Linked DNA regions of Homo sapiens: region 1 is linked to region 2. The links are contacts of gene promoters, found by promoter capture Hi-C in blood cells and fetal thymus (Javierre and others, 2016). All regions are on one chromosome and are shown on one strand. The core of a region is centred on a gene start or on the middle of the fragment in contact, and the rest is flanking DNA. Distances in the headings are between cores, read along the strand shown. Region 1 overlaps NT5DC1 (5'-nucleotidase domain containing 1). Region 2 holds the start of ZUP1 (zinc finger containing ubiquitin peptidase 1).

Evidence for each region. The method cuts DNA at HindIII sites, captures the fragments that hold promoters and counts their contacts. A CHiCAGO score of 5 or more calls a contact.
Region 1: a contact is called between a fragment that was not itself captured here and the fragment with the promoter of ZUP1 in region 2, in 1 of 17 cell types (naive B cells). The highest score is 5.1, in naive B cells.

What each region holds. Positions count from the first base shown.
Region 1 is chr6:116,215,265-116,218,767 of GRCh38, reverse strand. All of the region lies in intron 6 of NT5DC1 (5'-nucleotidase domain containing 1), which reads right to left. It also overlaps a transcript of COL10A1 not described here. Among named protein-coding and RNA genes, the nearest start is that of TSPYL4, 37 kb to the left of the region's middle. The HindIII fragment of the contact is 705 bases long and covers 1,677-2,381 here.
Region 2 is chr6:116,667,365-116,670,790 of GRCh38, reverse strand. It overlaps ZUP1 (zinc finger containing ubiquitin peptidase 1), which reads left to right and starts at 2,025. Exons shown (of 10, transcript NM_145062.3): 1 at 2,025-2,225. RefSeq lists an enhancer at 2,001-2,190 and a silencer at 2,952-3,101. The HindIII fragment of the contact is 3,066 bases long and covers 1-2,269 here.

The DNA of each region.
Region 1 (3,503 bases), core at 780-3,279, 450 kb after region 2:
AGACCAAAAACAAAAACAAAGTTTTTGCTCTTTTTATATTTTGCCCTACAGGAACTTCTGTGTGTGAATCTCTAGGATCTATTTTTAACATGCCAGAGGCTATATAATAGCCCTTTAAAAAAATTAAAATATATTCTCTGTTTCCCAGGGAAGAGGAAGTACTAGTAAGAAAAGGTCAGTTTAAGAAACAGATGATAATAATAAATCTAAATGGCTAAGAATAGAGAAGTTTGATGAGTGGATGACTGCTAATTTCAGAGGCTGTGTCTCTCTCGTAACTTACTATACCTAAGGGAGTCAGATGTGAGATTATTTCACTTAGAAAAACAAAGCTTTTGTAGCAAGAAGAATTTTATGGGCTACGTAAGAAAAAAATTTATAGTGTGTAATGCTGAAAACATAGACTTGCTTTCAGAAAACTTGAGAAAAAATTATTTTTTCTTAGCTATATGTGCTTAGTGCCATCTAGTGATCAAAATATAAATTACCATTAAAAAGCTACTGTTAACATTTCCAAAGGAATAAAAATACAAGGCATACGCATTTAAATACAATATTTTAAATTTCTTACCTAGGTTAATTGCATTAGTATCTCAATTAATAATGTCTGATTCAAAAGAGTACCAATATAATAATTTAATCAGATAAAATTATTCTCTGAAGTCATAACAGAGATGTCCTTGTTTTGTTCATAAGCCAGACTGAAATGAACAAACTAAAAAAGACAAGCCCTGTACAAACACATACCCAATGGTAGATTATGAGTTGCTCTTACTACAAAAGATCACTGTCATGGAGAAAATATTTTTGCCCCCTTGTAACCTCCAATTATTAAAGGAATAGGAGACATAATTATACAAATAGAAACATCTTTTTATTGAAATAAGTCAAGGTATTAAATCAAATGAAGAGTTATGTTAAACATACTACAATGGATTATAATTGTCTATTAAATTATATCCCCCAAAGAAACTATAAACTTCTAAAGGCAAGAAATATATCTTTCTGCTTGGCATGGAGCAAGTATTCAACATATGAATACCTAAATTAGTGCAGGAGCAGACACAGGAACATTTATGTTTCCTTACATTCAAGGCAAGAGTATGATTAGTACCATATAGCCAAACTGAAGTGATAAAAATAATATTATTCATGTATGATTAAGGCAGCCTATGAAAAAAGTCATGTTTAATTATGATACTAATTAACACTGATTGAACAAAATGGAATTTAGACCTAAGATGGAAAGGAGTGGTATTGTTTGTTCTTAACTCACAAAGAAGCCTGTGTTTTCACTTAACCTCCAAAGGAATTCTATTTCACTGCCACTTTATGTAACTTATTTTCCTGGTTTTTCCACCACTCTTATATCCTTTGATGCTGATATTTTCTAGGTCCAGATGAGATTTAAAGGAAATTCTTTTAATAAGCTGATTCTAAGGAATAAAAGTTTAGCTCTCCTATGTTAAAAAAACTGGTTAATGTAGAGTGACAGAAATAATACCAAAGTGTTGCAACAGTCTGATATGCACATCAAATGGCCTGAATACACCAAACAGGATATAGGGACCTCTCGTGGTAAAAAAGTATAGTACAACCTGAATATTAAAAACAGTTTTTTTCAGTTTAACAGACAATTGTGCCACATCACTATTTCTATCATCACTGAATAAGCTTTTTCTTGTTAACTGTATCACTACTGTTTGCATGATTTTTGGCCAGAATTTTCAAAGCTGCTGTCCGAGGGGACTAGAGATGCCAGGATGCTAACACTTCCATGGTCAGCCTCCAAATAAGGTCTGTTGTTTCCATTGCAGAATATAATTTAGAAGAGATTTAAATATTTACAACCTTTACAAGTTATATAAGAGCACGCTAGTGAACAGCTAAAATGCCTAGCGATGAACTGTTTAAATGTACTTGCTGTAGAGATGATATAATTAATTTTCTTAAAAGAAGAAACTTCTTTGCTAAGAGACACTGAAATATTTGTTGGAGGATAAAAGAGATAAATTTATTTTGTTTATTTATAGGTGGCAAAAAATAAAATTAAAATGTATTAAAACAGATTTGCTGTTTATATAACAAAATATATGGTTTATATCTAATATTTTATAATTAAATAAATAAATCTAGAATATCTAGATTGTGTAAAGTGAAAATCTATATGCTAAACATAATACTTGGAAAGTCTCTCAAATAAAAGCTGGGAAATGAAGTACAGAATATGAGAGAAAAACATAATATACAAAATTTACATTTTAACAGTATCTGATTTCCAGATCTGTAATTTAATTTGCATATCCCGGCCCTACTCCAAAAATTCTGATTTAATTGTTTTGGGGTAGGGCCACAACATTGGTATTTTTTTTTTTAAAGCTTCCCAGGTAGTCCTAATGTGCTACCAGGATTAAGACTTGTTGACCTAAAATATAAAATATAAAATATAAAAACCAGAATTCTTACTATTATTTTCTGTGTATTTTGCCTGCTTCATTGGAAATCACAGGCTCTCAGAGGGCAGGGACTTTTGAATTTTATAGTATCTTTATTACCTAACATATAGCCTTGTACATGTTAGGTAATCAACAAATAATAACTGTTGCCAATTATCTTAAATGTCATTGTGGTTGATGATCTTTAAAGTGTTTACTCTTACACTATACCAATTAAGCATGGTACTCTAGATTTAGTTAAGTATTGTGAATACAGAATGATGGATTTCATTCCTCCTTTGAAAGGAGGATTCCTGGAAAAAGTGTATATTATGGAATTCTTTGAAAGAAAAATTATTCGAACAGTTTAAATGAGTATAGACAAGCCAAACAGACTCCTTTATCTCTCCAAAGCCATCAAACTGCCTGACTCTGTGCTGAATACAGTCTATAAATATGATTTTGGGTCGGCAGTATTTTAAAATTTTTGGATGTTAATGTCCTTGGACAGTATTACATATGTATTGTAATAGTTTACCCACAATCCCACCACGCCATATTGTCTGCACTTGGCCTAGTCAACTCCCCTGTTGCCATCAGTTTACAACCTATTTTTTCTCCTATGATATCAGAATGAATCATTCTAAAAGAACCTAGTTTCCTCTTTCCGACATGGTTACTGGACAGACAACGTAAATGTGGAGAGAGGTTTTTGAAGGTCTGCCTGGTTTTATTCAAAATATAACAAATCCTTTAATGAGGACGCTGACAGCTGGGAGGGTCAGCAGATGGATCTGATGACAGAATCACATACAATAATATCTGGACAGGCTGTAAAGTCGACAAGGTGACTCAGTGAGGTACAATTTCATAGGGAGAGATGAAATCTTACCAGGTTGAAAGCTCAGCCATACAGGCATAACATTGGAGGAGCTGTTGTTTGTCAGCAACTTCAAAATATAGAGCTTACAGTCAGCTTAGGCTCCACAGTATAGACAAAGTAAAATAAAAAGTTTGGAGACCATGTTTTGCAATTTATTTAGTTACTACTATGTACTTTTGATATCA
Region 2 (3,426 bases), core at 776-3,275:
GCTCATGCGATCTGCCCGCCTCTGCCTCCCAAAGTGTTGGGATTACAGGCGTGAGCCACCGCGCCTAGCCAATTTTTAAAAACATACTATTTATCATCAGATAACATCACCCTCCTATTTAAATACCTCACTAGTTTTCTACCAGGTCCTACATGATTTGGCCCCTGTCTACAACCCTAACCTCATCTTGTAATCATTTTTCTCCTTACCACATTATGCTCTGGTCAAAAAGTGTTCTTTTTGCTCCAGCCTTAGGCCTTCGTTCTTGTTATTTTATCTGTCTGAAATGCTATTTCCCCTGTTGGTGTAAGGTTTGTTCATCAGCACACTCAACCCTTCATCAAGACCTTTTCTAAACATTCGTATCTCTATAATCCAGTTTTCTTTTCTTTCTTTCTTTCTTTTTTTTTTTTTTTTTTTGAGACTCAGTCTCAAAAATCTATTGCTCTGTCACTCAGGCTGGAGTGTAGTGGCACGATCTCAGCTCGCTGCAACCTACGCCTCCCGGGTTCAAGCAATTCTCCTGCCTCAGCCTCCCGAGTAGCTGGGATTACAGGCACCTGCCACCACGCCCAGCTAATTTTTGTATTTCTAGTAGAGACGGGCTTTCACCATGTTGGCCAGGCTGGTCTTGAACTCCTGACCTCAAATGATCTGCCCGCCTCGGCCTCCCAAAGTGCTGGGATTACATATGTGAGCCACTGAGCCTGGCCAATCCAGTTTTATTTTCTTCATAGCACTTATCATGATCAGTTAATTTACTTTTTATTTCCTCTACCTCACCAGCATGTAAGCCTCAAAAATCCTGAATTTTGTGTATTTTGATTACTGCTGCAGCTCCTGTTGCAAGCAAAACGCCTTTCTAATAGACACTCTTTAAATATTTGTTGAATGAAATAAAGCCTGAATGACAAGATATTTGTGATTTTGGGCTAACATGGTGGCTCACACTTTGGGAGGCCGAGATGGGAGGATCATTTGAGGCCAGGAGTTCGAGGCTGCGGTGAGCTATTTTAGCCACTGTGCTCTGGCCTGGGTGACAGAAAGAGTCCTCCTCTCTAAAAATACATACATACGGCCGGGCACGGTGGCTCACGCTTGTAATCCCAGCACTTTGGGAGGCCGAGGGGGGCGGATCACGAGGTCAGGAGATCGAGACCATCCGGGATAACACGGTGAAACCCCATCTCTACTAAAAATACAAAAAATTAGTCAGACGTGGTGGCGGGCGCCTGTAGTCCCAGCTACTTGGGAGGCTGAGGCAGGAGAATGGCGTGAACCCGGGAGGCGGAGCTTGCAGTGAGCAGAGATGGCACCACTGCACTCCAGCCTGGGCGACAGAGCAAGACTCCGTCTCAAAAAATATATATATATACATACATACATACATACAAACCAAGATATTTGTTATCTTGTAACCTTGAGGAAAGAACCTGGTATCCTTTACCTTCGGTGCATAGCTGGGAGCTTGATACCTAGCAGCATTATAAACCCTTTATTGATACTAAAATAGAGTGCTACTCAGCAGGCCCTAGTGTAGACTGCTATTTGCCCCAGGACCTGCCCTGTGAACTCATTCAGATTAAGTATGAATGACCTCAGAGCCCGGTTTTCTCTCCTAGCAATTGAGTGGCAGGAAACTCGATGGGAGAAGGAAAAACTCGGAAATGGGAGGAATGCAAAAATGACTACATCTCTCAGGAGATCGAGACCATCCTGGCTAACACGGTGAAACCCCGTCTCTACTAAAAATACAAAAAATTAGCCAGGCATGGTGGCGGGCGCCTGTAGTCCCAGCTACTCGGGAGGCTGAGGCAGGAGAATGGCGTGAACCCGGGAGGCGGAGCTTGCAGTGAGCCGAGATCGCGCACTGCCCTCCAGCCTGGGCAGCAGAGCGAGACTCCGTCTCAAAAAAAAAAAAAAAAAAAAAAGACTACATCTCCCAGAATGCACTGCATAGAGACCGGCGTGGAGCGGCGCATTCTGGGATTACTTCTTTTCCGTGGGAGTAAGGAAGTGCTTTTGAATGAGGTACTGAGGGCCAAGGTGTTGGAAGTTCCTAATTCTTTCCTCGGTTAACTGTGAAACTCTGCGTATTGGGAAGGCCTGGCCTCAGTCATCAGGCCAGGAGAGGTACTGGACGCCGCGCACGCACTCGTCTGCCAGCGAGGCCCAAAGGGGAAGCCTAGCGGAGCTCAGTGTGGCAGCTGCTGGCCTCTGGGCCGGTAAGAATTGATGGTCCCCTCCCTTATTCCCCAGGCCCAAAGCTTTGACCCAGTTAGTGCCTGCTAGTTTCGTGTGCCTGGCTTGTGCCTTTGGCGCGGAACGTTTGGGAGACTCGGCCTTGCGGTCTTCTGACCTCACCCACCACGTACCTAGCTTGGCACTGGGTCCTTCATGCCTCTCACTCGCTTCCTCTGAGGCACCTGGGTACTCTCTTGTCTCTTACCCGCTTAATCTGAGTCCATGTCCAAGTTCATCATTCTGTGTCTGACCGTGTCCCAGCCACCGGAAGAGAAGAAACTCCGGGTGTGACATTAATCCCACTGGGGGCTCGGGAGAACTGCCTTCTAAAATCAGAGACTGTATCCATTTGTCTGGAGAGAAATGAAAAAAATAAGGACAATGTAGGGAGGTATTTTAAAGGTAAATTTATTTAAATGAAGTGATAGTGTCATTACTTTTCCTGTTTGATTTTAAATAGTCTTTAGCTGAACGATGACCTGTAGTAGGAAGGTGGTGGCGAAGTGATTGCTTTTTTTAAAATTATTTTTTTAACACTTTTATGTCAGTAGTCAGTACTTTATTTGTCCATAAAATCCAAAAATAACTACCTTTGGATTTTACAGTAGTCTTTGACTGAACCTCAGAGAGATGAGATTCCTTACCCAAAATGATGAATCTGAAATTATTACCCAGTTCTCTTGACTCTGGAATAAGTGCTTTTTTCTACTATACCACTTCTGCTTTTATTCTTGGGGCTGAGAGTACAGGCTGTGGAGCACGACGGGGTTGGCATTTTGGCTTCCACCTTTTTCTGCTTGTGGTGACCTGTCTGAGCCAGAATTTCTTTATGTGTAGAGCGATAATAATAGTACTTAAATTACAATAATAGCACTTAAATAGCACTTGATACATGTAAGACTCTAAGTTTACAGTGTTAAACTCTACTTGTAAGATGTGTTTATTTACCTCCTCAATATAATCAGCTTCAGTATTCAGTATTTAGATATATCAGTTGATAAATAGGTTTCTTCTCTTCATTTTTTTCTTACCTGATTTATCTTACCTGGACAATTTTTTAAACGTTATTTTTTCTCCACCTTGGGCCAGAGACATTTTTTGAAATATTTTATTTTTAAAATTACTTGTATTCATTATTATTGCCTTTTTTTAAAAAAAAATAAATGAAATTTTGGTTGATAT